Regions from separate parts of the Homo sapiens genome. Here region 2 is linked to region 1. The links are contacts of gene promoters, found by promoter capture Hi-C in human tissues and cell types (Jung and others, 2019). All regions are on one chromosome and are shown on one strand. Each heading gives the region's core, a stretch centred on a gene start or on the middle of the fragment in contact. The rest is flanking DNA. Distances are from core to core; before and after follow the strand shown. Region 1 holds the start of FKBP10 (FKBP prolyl isomerase 10). Region 2 overlaps LOC105371776 (a long non-coding RNA gene).

What was found. Contacts are between HindIII fragments. The study calls those that stand out against the background at their distance.
Region 2: a fragment that was not itself captured here is called in contact with the fragment with the promoter of FKBP10 in region 1 in 1 of the 25 tissues and cell types used here (small bowel).

Annotation. Positions count from the first base shown.
Region 1 is chr17:41,808,004-41,815,410 of GRCh38, reverse strand. It overlaps FKBP10 (FKBP prolyl isomerase 10), which reads right to left and starts at 2,407. Exons shown (of 10, transcript NM_021939.4): 1 at 2,132-2,407. The coding sequence starts at 2,376. P3H4 (prolyl 3-hydroxylase family member 4 (inactive)) reads left to right here and starts at 3,462. Exons shown (of 8, transcript NM_006455.3): 1 at 3,462-3,957; 2 at 4,127-4,279; 3 at 4,377-4,548; 4 at 5,577-5,705; 5 at 7,407. The coding sequence starts at 3,496. RefSeq lists enhancers at 1-104, 105-606, 3,093-3,202 and a silencer at 3,343-3,832. The HindIII fragment of the contact is 16,914 bases long and covers 1-5,943 here.
Region 2 is chr17:40,807,296-40,814,942 of GRCh38, reverse strand. It overlaps LOC105371776 (a long non-coding RNA gene), which reads right to left. Exons shown (of 4, transcript XR_934753.2): 2 at 5,627-5,794; 3 at 4,296-4,380; 4 at 815-995. Among named protein-coding and RNA genes, the nearest start is that of KRT10-AS1, 8.0 kb to the left of the region's middle. The HindIII fragment of the contact is 6,368 bases long and covers 1-5,443 here.

The sequences.
Region 1 (7,407 bases), core at 1,158-3,657:
GAGGAGGGTGGATTGCCTGAGCTCAGAAGTTTGTGACCAGCCTGAGCAACATGGTGAAACGCCATCTCTACTAAAATATGAAAAATTAAGGCTGGGCGCCGTGGCTTACGCCTGTAATCCCAGCACTTTGGGAGGCCGAGGTGGGCGGATCACGAGGCTGGGGTGGCATGTCTGACTGTGTGACACGTAGACAGACAGGGCCTCCGCAGGGAGCCATGCCCTACCCCCAGGTCCAGCTGGCTGTCTTCTTATAATACCCACCCGCCTTTTTCAAGACCAGTCTGGCCAACATAGTGAAACCCCTCTCTACTAAAAATACAAAAAAATTAGCCGGGTGTGGTGGTGTGCACCTGTAATCCCAGCTACTCGGGAGGCTGAGGCAGGAGAATCACGTGAACCTGGGAGGCAGAGGCGGAGGTTGCAGTGAGTTGAGATTGCTCCATTGCACTCCAGCCCAGGCAACAGTGTGAGACTGTGTCTCAAAAAACAAAAACAAACAAACAAACAAAAATTAGCTGGGCGTGGTGGCATGCGCCTGTAATCACAGCTACTTGGGAGGCTGAAGCAGGAGAATTGCTTGAACCCAGGAGGTTGCAGTGAGCTGAGATGGCACCACTGCACTCCAGCCTGGGCGACAGAGTGAGCCTCCAGCTAAAAAACAAAAAGTTTTCCAAGCTCAACACTCATGAGCTGGGCTCCCAGAGTCCCCATCAGGGATGACATCCCCTAAATCCCAACCCCTGCCTCACTCCTAGCAGTCAAGGGCTCAGGGCTGCACTTCTGGCTACTACCCTATATCTGAATTTGCCCACCAAGCAGACAGGTTTTAAGTCTGGACTGTTTCCTTCTCAGTGTTGTTATGAAGGCTTAAGCTCTGCATTAAGTTTCTACAAGTTCCACAGCATCAGGTCATATGGTTTTCCTCAGGGTCAATGTTAATGTGTGCTGAACTGGCTGGAGGACTGCCAGGCCCTGTGAGAAGCCTACGTTCATTCATCCATGTCCTTGGAGTCCTAACATCAGCCTTAGCAAGTAGGTCCTGTTTTTGTCTCCACTTTTCAGATAAGGAAAGTGATGCCTAAAGAGACAAAATTCTCTGTCCATGGTCATAGCCTGGATTTGAACCAGGGTCTTGGGACTCTTGGAGTTTGTAGGCTTACCCCAATATATGCCTGCCTCTAAAGTCATGGCCACTAATTTCCTGTGGGCTGAGTTGTGTGTTTCAGAGGAGGGTCTAAGAAACACTGACTTCTTTCAGTGTGCTGTGGGGTCTGTGTGTAACTGGGACCCTAGATTTACCCCTGAGGCTGGCATACAGCCCTGCCCTGTCCCCGCTAACAAAAGTGGACTTGCTGGGGCAGACCAAAGGCCTGGGTCAGACCAGGAGGCCACCTTACAAACCCCAAGGCTGGCAAAAATGGGCGGCCTGTGCCTCTGGCCTGGTGTACCTAAAATGGAGAGAGATGAGGGTTCCAGGAGAACCAGAGAGGGAGGAATGAAATTCCTCCAAGGAGCCCAGGGTGGCATGTCCGACTGTGTGACACGTAGACAGGGCCTCCGCAGGGAGCCACGCGCTACCCCCAGGTCCAGCCGGCTGTCTTCTTATAATACCCACCAGCCTTTTTCCCTGCCCACCAGCCGCTGAAAACTCCCACCCCCTCCAAAAAAAAGTTCTATTCCCTCTTCTCTGACCACAAAGGCACTGAAAACAGTGGAACCAGAAGGGGAGTCAGGGTGGGTGGAAAGGTACGGGGTCCAGGCTGATAGACCATCCCAGGGTTCTTAAGCAGCAGGGACCACCCCCTTCCCCCCAACACTGTAGATCAGAACACCCCTCTCCATCAGGTCATTACATACAGCCCTGGTAACTACACAAGGCAGTTCACCTTGATTATCGAGTCCTTTCCGGGATGTGGAGAGCTTGTGAGAAAGAAATGGGATCCTTTGAGAAGTGAGGGTTTGGAAGTGGGGGCAGGAGGGTATCTTTGGGGAGATGGGTGTCTGGGAGGCCCCAGGGGTGCTGTCTAGGGTTAGAGTATTGGGATGCAGAGCTTAAAAGAGGCAACAAGGAAACAGGACCCCGGGTTCAGGGGACGGAGTGGTGAATCCGGGGGCGCCCAACCGGGGTTACCTTGAATCAAACTTCTTGCCATCTTCAAAAGTGCCGTTGTAGTGGTAGCGCACAAAATCCCCCATCTGCACTTCCCGGGGACAGGCCCTGGGGATGTGGTACCTCTCGATGACCACATCTTCCAGGGGGCCCCCGGCCGGGCTGGCGCGGCCCAGCCCCCTCCCCACGGCCTGCACCACCAGTAGCAGCAACTGCAGCAGGGGGAGCCGGAGGAGGCTGTGGCTGGGGGGGCCCGCGGGGAACATGGTGCCTGGAGTTGGGACCGCCGGCAGTGAGGGCGAGCGAGGGAGTCGCCACCAACCTCCTTCCCCCCGCCTCCCAGAACTGGCTCCCCCTCTTCCTGTCCTCTTTCCCTACCCCCGCCCTGGCTGGTCCACGTGGAATGGGGGCTGGGAAGACTGAGCTGGCCTGGCCGGGAGGAGCGGGGGAGGGGGTTGCAATAGGAGGAGGGGGCCAGGCTGAGTGTGTTAGAGTCTGAGGGAGGCACTACAAAGAACTCTAGGTTCCCCCTCCCCCCATCTCCATCCCTGGCTGCGAGACCTGGGGCCTGGCCAGGGAGAGAGGCTCGGGAAAGATGAGAACTCTGAGTGGACACCAAAGGAAAAAAAAAAAAAAAAGTTCAATGACTTTTTCCGGAGCCCCCGGGTCCTAAAGCCGGGCGGAGATGAACCTTGCTTCTTTCGCGGGCACTTCGAATTCTAGTCCCCTCCAGGTGGGTGGTGAAGCCGCGGAGTGTGAGAGGCATCTCCGTGCTCATCCGTGACCCCAGCTGTACTCCAAGGGAAGGCATCTCCAGGGAAGAGCAGCTTGGTCCCGCAAAAGCTGGACTGAAAGAAGGACTTTGTGACTTGGGATGTGACGGGCACGGAGATGGAGTGGGGGGTGGTGGCAGCGCAAGGTGTGCAGGTGACAGCAGGTGTGTGCCTCCGACGTGGGCGGGGGAGACACTCGGAGGGTGCAGGAGGGCGCAGCGACGGAAGGCCCGGCTCCAGGGCTTCCTTCTCGTATGGGCAGCGCAGAGGAGGCGGCCCTCACTCAGTGTCCTGATCTCAGGCGGGGGCACTGTTTGCATGGGGAGGGGCTTCCTGGGCTTCCCATCTCTGGCGGGAAGCGCTCCCCGACGCATTCTCTACCTAGGGGACACCCCCAAGGCAGGAGCCCGGGCCGACGGAGAGGACTTAACGACACTATCGGACCCTCTGGGAAAAGAGGGGAGACGTCGTGACCCAGGCCCCGCCCCACCTTGCCGCCTCGTGCCCGGCGCTAAGACCCAGCGGGCGCGCCGCCCGCCCGGGGCCCGGCCCTGTCCCCTTCCGTCCGCGGGGCAGCCAGCTCAGCTCCGGAGAGCCGGCGGCGCGGCGGGCATGGCTCGGGTGGCGTGGGGGCTGCTGTGGTTGCTGCTGGGCAGCGCCGGGGCGCAGTACGAGAAGTACAGCTTCCGGGGCTTCCCGCCCGAGGACCTGATGCCGCTGGCCGCGGCGTACGGGCACGCTCTGGAGCAGTACGAGGGAGAGAGCTGGCGCGAGAGCGCGCGCTACCTGGAGGCGGCGCTGCGGCTGCACCGGCTCCTGCGCGACAGCGAGGCCTTCTGCCACGCCAACTGCAGCGGCCCCGCGCCCGCGGCCAAGCCCGATCCCGACGGCGGCCGCGCAGACGAGTGGGCCTGCGAGCTGCGGCTCTTCGGCCGCGTCCTGGAGCGAGCCGCCTGCCTGCGGCGCTGCAAGCGGACGCTGCCCGCCTTCCAGGTGCCCTACCCGCCGCGGCAGCTGCTGCGTGACTTCCAGAGCCGCCTGCCCTACCAGTACCTGCACTACGCGCTGTTCAAGGTGGGAGCCCGCCCCCACCCGGGGACCTGTCTCGGGCTGGGCGTCGTGGCTCCCCACAGATCGGTCGAAGGAGCGTTATCTTCACCCAAGGCACGAAGCCCGCCGTGCGCTCGGGGCCGCGAGCTCCGGTCTTGCTGACCCGCTCCCCCACCCCCTACCCCCCGACCAGGCTAACCGGCTGGAGAAGGCGGTGGCGGCGGCCTACACCTTCCTCCAGAGGAACCCGAAGCACGAGCTGACCGCCAAGTATCTCAACTACTATCAGGGGATGCTGGACGTCGCCGACGAGTCCCTCACGGACCTAGAGGCCCAGCCCTACGAGGTGGGGTGGAGGGTCAGGAGGAGGCTTGTAGAGGAGGGCTAGTAGAGGAGGGGAGATGTTGGGGGCGCCCTGACTCCCCCTGCCACGCCCCTTCCAGGCCGTGTTCCTCCGGGCTGTGAAGCTCTACAACAGCGGGGATTTCCGCAGCAGCACGGAGGACATGGAGCGGGCCTTGTCAGAGTACCTGGCAGTCTTTGCCCGGTGCCTGGCCGGCTGTGAAGGGGCCCATGAGCAGGTGGACTTCAAGGACTTCTACCCGGCCATAGCAGGTATCTGCCACCCAGACCACGGTGGGCGGTCCTCTCACCCACAGGGCCCGGTAAGGCAGATGTCCCCTTCATGCACGTGGAGCACTGCGAATGCGGAGGAGCCAGCCGGGAGGAAGGCCTTGTCTGTTGAGAAAGACGCTGGGTGCAGGGGCCCCAGCTGGGAGTGTCCAAGGGGCTGGATCAGTGAGTAGAGGCAGTGACATCCCTAAAGGGTTTGGGAAGCTTGGGTTCATAGGCCTTCCAGGCAGAGGGCAGTGCAGATGCAAAGGTGCAGCGGTGAGAAGTAACCCAGCAGATGTGTGCAGAAAGCAGTTGATAACCAGAAATTACACCTAGTCTTGGGATCTCTAACCCTGGGGTCCCTCGAGCAGGGGCAGAAAGGACTGTACTTGGCCAGGTGTGGTGGCTCACACCTGTAATCTCAGCACTCTGGGAGGCCGAGGCAGGCAGATCACGAGGTCAGGAGTTCAAGACCAGCCTGACCAACATGGTGAAACCCCGTCTCTACTGAAAGTACAAAAATTAGCTGGTCGTGGTGGCGGGCACCTGTAATCCCAGCTACTCGGGAGGCTGAGGCAGGAGAATCGCTTGAACCTGGGAGGCGGAGGTTGCATTGAGCCCAGATCGCGCCACTGCACTCCAGCCTGGTCGACAGGGCGAGACTCTGTCTCAAAAAAAAAAAAAAAAAAAAAAGACTGTCCTTTAGCTTCTCTGTTTGGACTTCTGCCCCATTTCTGGACCTCACCTGCTGCTCTCCCAGAATGCCCTGGCTCCCTCTGGCTTGGGGTGGTGGTTGAGTGGCAGGGGTGGTGAGTCAGCCCAGCCCACAGTCATCTTCCTCACCATCACTTGTCATATAGTATGCCAAGCACTTTACAGACATTCTCTCCTGTGATTGCAACAGCAACACATTTTCTGGACAAGCAGCTTGGCTTAGTAGGCAGAGATTGGATTTAGAGTCTTCTCCACTGGGGGGACGGAGATGTTCATTGCAATGCCAGCCTCTCACTGCTGCCTCCCACCCTCAGATCTCTTTGCAGAGTCCCTGCAGTGCAAGGTGGACTGTGAGGCCAATTTGACCCCCAATGTGGGTGGCTACTTCGTGGACAAGTTCGTGGCCACCATGTACCACTACCTGCAGTTTGCCTACTATAAGTGTGAGCCCCCTGGGTGGGCTGGCTTGGGCAGGGGACGAGGTGATAAGGGAGAGGACTGTATGGGAGCCTCCCAGAGTTGTGGGGAGCTTTCCTTCAGTATTGAGGACCCTGGGTGATAGGAGGAAAGTCTAGGGGTGGTGGGAATATGGGGAAGGCACCCTGGGAGTCTGGGGCAGGTGAGAGGCTTCTGAGTGAGAACAGACAGCAGCCTCAGGGAGAAGAAGAGGGTCTTTTGGGCAAATGACTAGACAACCAACAACTGCAGAGCACTTGACAGTTTATTTTTATTTTTGAAACGGAGTTTCACTCTTGCCCAGGCTAGAGTGCAGGGGCACGATCTCGGCTCACTGCAACCGCTGCCTCCCGGATTCAAGTGATTCTCTTAGCCTCCTGAGTAGCTGGGATTATAGGTGCCTGCCACCACACCCAGCTAGTTTTTGTATTTTTAGTAGAGACGGGGTTTCACCATGTTGGCCAGGCTGGTCTTGAACTCCTGACCTCAGGTGATCCACTGCCTCAGCCTCCCAAAGTGCTGGGATTATAGGCATGAGCCACCATGACCGGCCAACACTTGAGAGTTTATAAGTCACTTTATCTTATGTGGTCCTTTCACCAACACCATGCAGCTGGCATTACTGGACCGATTTTTCAGATGGGGAAACTGAGGCTTATAGGGCAAGGGGCTGTTGGTCTTATGACTAATAAAAAGTGGCACCAGGACTTGTGGCTCTCCTCACTGGAGAGATCCTGGCATCCACTGGGGCTGGAATGGACAGCCTCCAGTGTTCCTGCAGCTCGGAGATGCCAAGATTCAGACAGAGCCAGGAGTCAGAGCAGAGGGGCTGAGAACCCAGGGGCCAGGAGACCCTTCCTGGGTACACATAGCAGAGAGGCTAAGGGCCTCTAATTCACTAGAGCCATCATTCTCCAGCTGTGTGAGCTTGAGCAATTTATCTAACCTCTCTGTGACTCAGATTTCTTGACTGTAAAATGGGGATGACAGTAATAGGTAGGCATGGCTGGGCACAGTGGTTCACACTTGTAATCCCAGCACTTTGGGAGGCCCAGGCAGGCAGATGGCTTGAGCCCAGGAGTTCGAGACCAACCTGGGCAACATGACAAGACCCCGTGTCTACAAAAAATACAAAAAGTTAGCCAGGCATGGTGGCGCGTGCCTGTAGTCCCAGCTACTGGGGAGACTGAGGTGGGAGGATTGCTTGAGCCCAGGAGGCAGAGGCTGTAGTGAGCCGAGATCACACCACTGCACTCCAACCTGGGTGACAGAACAAGACCCTGTCTCAAAACAAACAAAAACATACAAAAAATTAGATGGGTGTGGTGGTGCCTGCTTGTAATCCCAGCTACTCAGGAGGCTGAGGTGAGAGGATCACCTAAGCCTGGGAGATCAAGCTTGAGGTGACCATAATTGCACCACTGCACTCTAGCCAGGGTGATAGAGTGAGACCCTGTTTCAAAAACAATAAAAAGACAATAACAGTGAGGCTTAGATGAGTTAGTCAGGGCCTGGCATAGGGTAAGTGCCCACTACATGCTAGCTGGCATTATGCTTGGGTGGGATAAGGAGCCCATTAGGTATTCTGGGAGGTGGCTGGGTAGCAGGGGTGCTGGACTGAACTGGAAGATGGAGTTGACTCTGAAGGGGAAGTGCCAGAGCAATTCCTCACCCCTGTCCTGCTGCAGT
Region 2 (7,647 bases), core at 1,010-3,509, 1.0 Mb after region 1:
TTTATGTCCTCGTGATAGTTTGCTCAGAATGATGGTTTCCAGCTTCATCCATATCCCTGAAAAGGACATGAACTCATCCTTTTTTATGGCTGCATAGTATTCCCTGGTGTATATGTGCCACAGTTTCTTAATCCAGTCTATCATTGCTGGACATTTAGGTTGGTTCCAAGACTTTGCTATTGTGAATAGTGCCACAATAAACATACGTGTGCATATGTCTTTATAGTAGCATCATTTATAATCCTTTGGATGTATACCCAGTAAAGGGATCGCTGGGTCAAATGGTATTTCTAGTTCTAGATCCTTGAGGAATTGCCACACTGTCTTCCACAATGGTTGAACTAATTTACACTCCCACCAACAGTGTAAAAGCGTTCCTATTTCTCCACATCCTCTCCAGCATTTGTTGTTTCCTGACTTTTTAATGACCGCCATTCTAACTGGTGTGAGATGGTATCTCATTGTGGTTTTGATTTGCATTTCTCTGATGACCAGTGATGTTGAGCATTTTTTCATATGTCTGTTGGCTGCATAAACGTCTTCTTTTGAGAAGTCTGTTCATTTCCTTTGTCCACTTTTTGATGGGGTTGTTTTTTTCTTGTAAATTTGTTTAAGTTCTTTGTAGATTCTGGATATTAGCCCTTTGTCAGATGGGTAGATTGCAAAAATTTTCTCCCTTTCTGTAGGTTGCCTGTTCACCATGATGATAGTTTCTTTTGCTGTGCAGAAGCTCTTTAGTTTAATTAGATCCCATTTGTCAATTTTGGCTTTTGTTGCCATTGCTTTTGGTTTTTCAGTCATGAAGTCTTTGCCCATGCCTGTGTCCTGAATGGTATTGCCTAGGTTTTCCACTTTTTCTTTTTTTCACAGCACTGTTTCCAACTTACTATACAATGTATTCATTATTAGTCATCCTTTTCCCCTGCTAGACGGTACACTCCAGAAAGACAACGCTTGATCTTCGTCTACTTTATCCATTCATGTATCCTGAGGCACTAGAACAGTGACTAACACAGGTTAGGTACCAAAAATATCGTTTTTGAAGGAATGAACTCTATGACATATATACTATTATTATCTCCATTTTACAGATGAAGAAACTGAAGCACAATTTAATTCATCACTGGAACTAAGAGTGTAGGAAATGATTATATATAAATGGACATTAGTGTATGATAAAGGAAGAATCTAAACCCTAAGAAAGTAAGGTTTATTCAGTAAATGATAAACTATTAAACCCATAACAAACATACTAGAAATAATCCAAATGAGTGTCTTAAACATCCATATAAGTAGTAAAAAAAAAGCAGAAAAAAATGTGTAATCACATTTTTTAAATTTTGAAATAATTATAGACTCGTTGGAAATTGCAAAAATAGTAGAGTCCAGTGTACTCCTGACTCACCTTCCCCAAATAGAGACATCTTCTATAGGCTAGGGTATAATATCTAAAATTTAAAAATTGGCATTGGTACATCACTGTTTAACTACAGAGCTTACTCAGTTTTTGTTTTTCCTAACCTGCATGTGTATTCACAAAATACAAATCTTATAAAGGACTGGCATATAGAATATAAATATAAAAAACTATAACTCAATAACAAGAAAAAACCACAAACCAAAAAAAAATTGTGTGTCTGTGCAATTGTACCCCATGTATAGGTACAATTTTTGTACCACCACCCAAATCAAGATACAGAACCATTTCATAACCACAAAAGAACTCCTTCATGCTACCTTTTTGTATTCACATGTGTACCTCAACACTCCCTTCCCAGTTCCTGGCCCCTGGCAACTACTAATCTCCATCTCTATAGTTTTACCATTTAGAGAATGCTATATAAGTGTAATCACACAGTATGTAACCTTTTGAGACTGAACATTTGTGTACACGTTTTGGTGTGAACATACATTTTCATTTCTCTGGGTTATATGTCCAAGCATATAATTGCTAGGTCATATGGTAGGTGCATGTTCAGTTTTGTAAGAAACCGCCAAACTGTTGTCCAGAGAAGCTGTACCATTTTATATTGCCACCAGCAATAAATGGGAGAGCAAATTTTTCTGCATCCTCATCAGTATTTGGCATTATCAGTATTTTTCTAATAGGTATGTACTTATAGCTCACTGAAGTTTAATTTGCATTTCCCTAATGGAAAATATGCTGAATAGCTTTTCTTTTTATTTTCTTTTTTTTCTCTCTCTTTTTTCTTGTTTTGAGACAGAGACTTTCTCTGGCGCCCAGGCTGGAGTGCAGTGGAGCAATCTCAGCTCACCGCAACCTCTGCCTCCCAAGTTCAAGTGATTTTCCTACCTCAGCCTCCTGAGTAGCTGGGATTACAGGCATGCGCCACCATGCCCAGCTAATTTTTGTATTTTTAGTAGAGATGAGGTCTCACCATGTCAGCCAGGCTGGTCTCAAACTCCTGACCTCAGGTGATCCACCCACTTCAGCCTCCCAAAGTGTTGGGATTACAGGCGTGAGCCACTGTGTCTGGCCTGAACAGCTTTTCATGTGGCTATTTGCCATCCGTATCTCCTCTTTGGTGAAACATCTGCTCATGTATTTTGATCATTATATAGCCCATTTGTATTTCATTGTGTTCTTTTCACTTAGGATTACTTTGGCTATTCATGATCTTCATCGGTCCCATATGAATGTTAGAATAGTTTCTTCTAGTTCTGTGAAAAATTACATTGGTGATTTGATAGGAATAGCATTGAACCTGTAGTTCGTTTTGGGCAGTATGGTCATTTTAACAATATTGACCCAATATCATTATTCACCCAATCCATGAGCATATGATGTTTTTCCATTTGTTTGTGTCATCTATTGAAAGTCACCGTCAAAATAATTTTAAAAAGCCAAAGACTGGGAGAAAATAGTCACAAAAATACAAATCTTATAAAGGACTGGCATATAGAATATAAATATAAAAAACTACAACTCAATAACAAGAAAAAAACCACAAACCAATTAAAAAATGGACAAAAGATTTGAACTGATACTTTATCAAAGAAGAGATACAAATGGCAAATAAGCACACAAAGAAGATGCTTGACATCATTAGACATTAGGGAAATACAAATTCTAAACATACCACTATACAACTATTAGAATGACTCAAAAAAAATTTTTTGATGGACAATACCAAGTGCAAGTAGGGATTCTGAGCAACTGGAACCCTCATATATTGCTAGTGGGAATGCAAAATTATAGTTTGGCAGTTTGTCATCGTGTTAAACATAGACTTAACATACAATCTAGCAATCTCACTCATAGACATTTATCCAACTGAAATAAAAATATCTACATAAAGACCTATGAGGAAAATTTAGAGCAGCTTTATTCATAATCATGAAATCTGAAAATAGCCCAAATGCCCATAAACTAGTGAATGGAAAAAAATATGGTACACCCATATATGAAATGCTACAAAAGAAACAGACCACATTACATCTTGAAATTCAAAAGCATTATGCTAAGTGAAAGATGCTAGACTCAGAAGGCTATATGTTATAGCTCATTGATATGAAATTCAAGGAAAAGTCAAACTAGAGAGCTAAAAACAGATCAGAGATTGTCAGAGGGTAAAGGGAGTGTGTTTACCACAAAGAGGTACAAGAGGATTTTTTGGAATGATGGAAGTATTCTCATATTCTCTGTTTTGTTTATGGTGGCCATTGTACAACTGAATTTGTTTGTCAAAATTAATTGAACTATACACCAAAAAAAGGTAAATTTTACTTTATGCACATTAAACCTCAATAAACCTGACTTTTAAAAAAAAATGAAAATTAAAAACAGCAATTGAACATTTAGCTTTTTATTTTTCTAGTGTGGTCAGTTTCTGCTGTATTTTCAGCTCCAAAAAAAGCTTGTACTCTGAGGACTAAAGAGCATGAAAATTTCTTTATAGCAAAAAAAAAAAATAGCACAGGTAAATAATTTCCTTATAATGGATTTTTTAATGAACAAACTTTGTGAATCATATTCTTAATCTATAGAACCAACGGATTAATTAAAGTTGAACCATAGCCTGCCTGTAATCACACGTTTATATTTGTGCAGCCTGTTATTAGAAAGAAAAGATGGAGGTGTCATAACGCACAACCTTTAAAACTCCTGCTTCTCCTGGAATGTTGTTTTGGTAGTTGGTTTGGGAATGTGAATGAGTAATGTTTGGACAACTGGGTTACTTATGGTGGGAAGAGTTAAAAGGAGTTGGTATGTAATCGCTACTTGATGCCAAGCCAAAAGAAATATAGAAACTCACGGCAATGTCTCCTCTCACCTAGGTGTATCCTCACCCTTCTACGCTCCATGGTGATCTTCCTGCCAAGATTTTTCTCCAATCAAAAGTCCATCTTCCACTTTCTCTTTGGAAAAAGAATGCGTAACAGTCTCACTACTGCCCATCACCTATTCCCTTTCACTGACATCTCCCCAAGCCCAACTATCATTTTCTGCCTTTAAAAAATAACTGGAATTTATATAAATCAATCCAACGCCTATCATAGACCTTGGTTCACAGTATGCATTAAAATATGTATTGGTTGATCATTCCTTCTGCAGTGTCAAGCACTGTGCCAGGCAACAGTGATTAAAAATAATGAATGAAACCCAGTCCTTGCCTTCAAAGAACTCAGAAGTAGAAATAGATGTACAACTACACAGACATGGTAGAAAGCACTACACAGAAGTAAGCCCAGGTTGCCATGGGAGCTTGACAATGCAATAGTCCTCCCTGTACAATTGAGATGACCTCTAGCAACCTATGCCTTCCAAAATGTCTACAGGTAATCTACATACACATTCAAATTAAACTTTCTATTATTTCACTGTTTTTTCATCTGCCCTGTCAGTAGAGCTGATTACCTTCTGCAAAAATGGGGACAAAGACTAAGATATCACATCTTGGCAGGAACACCATGCTTTACAGTATTTATTTGTGGAAACTGTGTTAAGAGGGGAAAAATGAAATAAGCACACTGGAATTTCCACTCTGTTCTAATTATGGAAAGCCATTTAAACAGTGATAAGACTCTATTGTTCATAAACACTACTTAGAATTATAATTATCTCCATGTGCGGGATACTGTGTTATGCGGTCAGGACATACCAAAGTATGTCAAGAAGTAGTATAGAAGAACAGTGTAACACTGTGTGTGTGCACAGATCTTTGCAATTCTCAATATACTTACACCTCTATGTAGAAATCATCTTCAGAACAACCTGGGGACATATGCAGGGTTCAGAAATATGTAATGATTTCCCCAAGGTCTCATGGATAGCAGCTGGCAGACCTAGGTCTTATATGTGGGATTTCTGATTTCAAGCCTAGAGCTCCTTCCTCTAGAGCAGTGATTACTAGACATTTCTTATTACAGTAAAAACATTTGAGTATGCACCCCCAAGATGTCCATATTTATTTTAAAATTATATAAAATATATGTATGTGTATATATACTATCAGATAGCTCAATGCACAACATGTATTTAGCATAAAGACTGTAGACCCAAATCCTTATTTTAAATAATCTTTTTGAGAACTCCAAATTTTATCAGCTGATTTCTTGTGGAATATAATACCACCATTATGATGATTATTGTATTATATTTTACCCAATAATGTGGCTGGCAAAGAACTCTTAACAGAAGTGGAAGTGTCAGCTGTCCCATTTTTTTGTTCTTCAATCATGCTTTCATGATTCTGTTATCTTCCAGTTGCTGTTTCTTTGCTGTTTCTGGTGGGGAGGGGGGATTCGCTCCATTAAAAGCAGCAATACAATCCTGAAATACAATGGACATAAACTGCAATGTCACAGTGCATTGCAAGCAAATGAAGATGTCACTATCCACTTCTCTACATTGTGGGGTGAACATTCTTTTCTCAGAATATCTTTTGAGCTGATTGAGAAGAGAGATTGACATAAAGATAAAATCAGAATGCCAATGTCATTCTTATATTAAATATGAGTTTAGTTTAATTCTTACTTTCTAATACAAAAACTTAAATAGAAGTTCTGACACCCTCTTCCTCCCACCCAGTGGGTTGCCTGCATCTCCTAAAAGTACATACTTTACTTGGAGACCAGTGCTCTGTAGTGCTTAGCCCTGCTCCTTCCTATATTTTGCCAGTAGTTCTGACTTACATTCCTTTTTTATAGCAAATATTTTGATTCACCCCCTTTACTATTGAGAAATGAAATTCATAGGTAATATATCCTTCCAACACACAGTTTATCCTAGTATACGGAGGAGGAGCAGGGGTGGGTACTATAAATATCACATGTACAAAACATATACTTATCACTTCTGTGTTTCATATATACATTTTTATATATCATATATAGAAACTGGCCGGGCATGGTGGCTCACACCTGTAATCCCAGCACTTTGGGAGGCTGAGGCGGGCAGACCATGAGGTCAGGAGTTTGAGACCAGCCTGGCCAACATGGTGAAACCCCATCTCCACCAAAAATATAAAAATTAGCCAGGTGTGGTGGCACATGCCTGTAATCCCAGCTACTCAGGAGGCTGAGGCAGGAGAATTGCTTGAACCCGGGAGGCGGAGGTTTCACTGAGCTGAGAGCACACCATTGCACTCCAGTCTGGGCAACAAGAGCAAGACTCCGTCTCAAAGAAAAAAAAAGAAAAGAAGATAAAGAAACTATGCATGGGAAGTTTATATTATCTATGATTATAATCTATAGTGTGTAGAAAGGTTAATGATAGATGTAAAAGAAAAACAGAAGGAAAGATAACTTGTAATAAAATTATTTGCATTTCAATATGGAAATGTTCGAGTATGATTGTACCAGAAGATGTAATGAAGTAGTCAAATGATTGCATCTATATGCAAAACCAGCGAGAATGCAAAAAGGTACAAATGAAGAGAGACTGATAAACGTGGGCACATCACTGACTTAAATACAATGAGCAGCAATGTTGTTGGTGATGGGATTTTTTAAACAACCCTTGATCAAATTCTGGGCAAAATAAGCTTAAGTACAATCTTCCTTGATTTATACAGCAATTACATTCCTAAAAAAATTCAGTTACAACTTTGCACACACACAAAAAAAAACTTTGTGTTTTTACATAACTTAGAACTCGTTTCCAGATTCAGGTAATTATAAACAGGTTTTTCACTTTCATGAATAGCTCATGGTTCAAAAGTCATGTGGAACACAGGACAATTCCTTGATGTCCAGGACTGTATCATGCATTTCATTATGTCTGGCATCCCTCCCCGACCCCAAATGCCAGCAACAACCCCTATCATTATGATGACCACATGTGTACACATTCACACATAGACACACACACTTCCAAAATATGCCCTCAGCAGCAGTACCCCTTGCACAGAGATTGAGGACTAGGCTTTCATTCCTGGTGTATCAAGAATCTCTACAGCGGCCAGATACAGTGGCTCACGCCTGTAATCCCAGCACTTTGGGAGGCCAAGGTGAGCAGATCACATGAGGGGAGGAGTTCAAGACCAGCCTGGGCAACATGGTGAAACCCCATCTCTACTAAAAAACACAAAATTTAGCCAGGCGTGGTGGCATGTGCCTGTAACCCCAACTACTCAGGAGGATGAGGCATGAGAATCCCTTGAACCTAGGAGGTGGAGGTTGCAG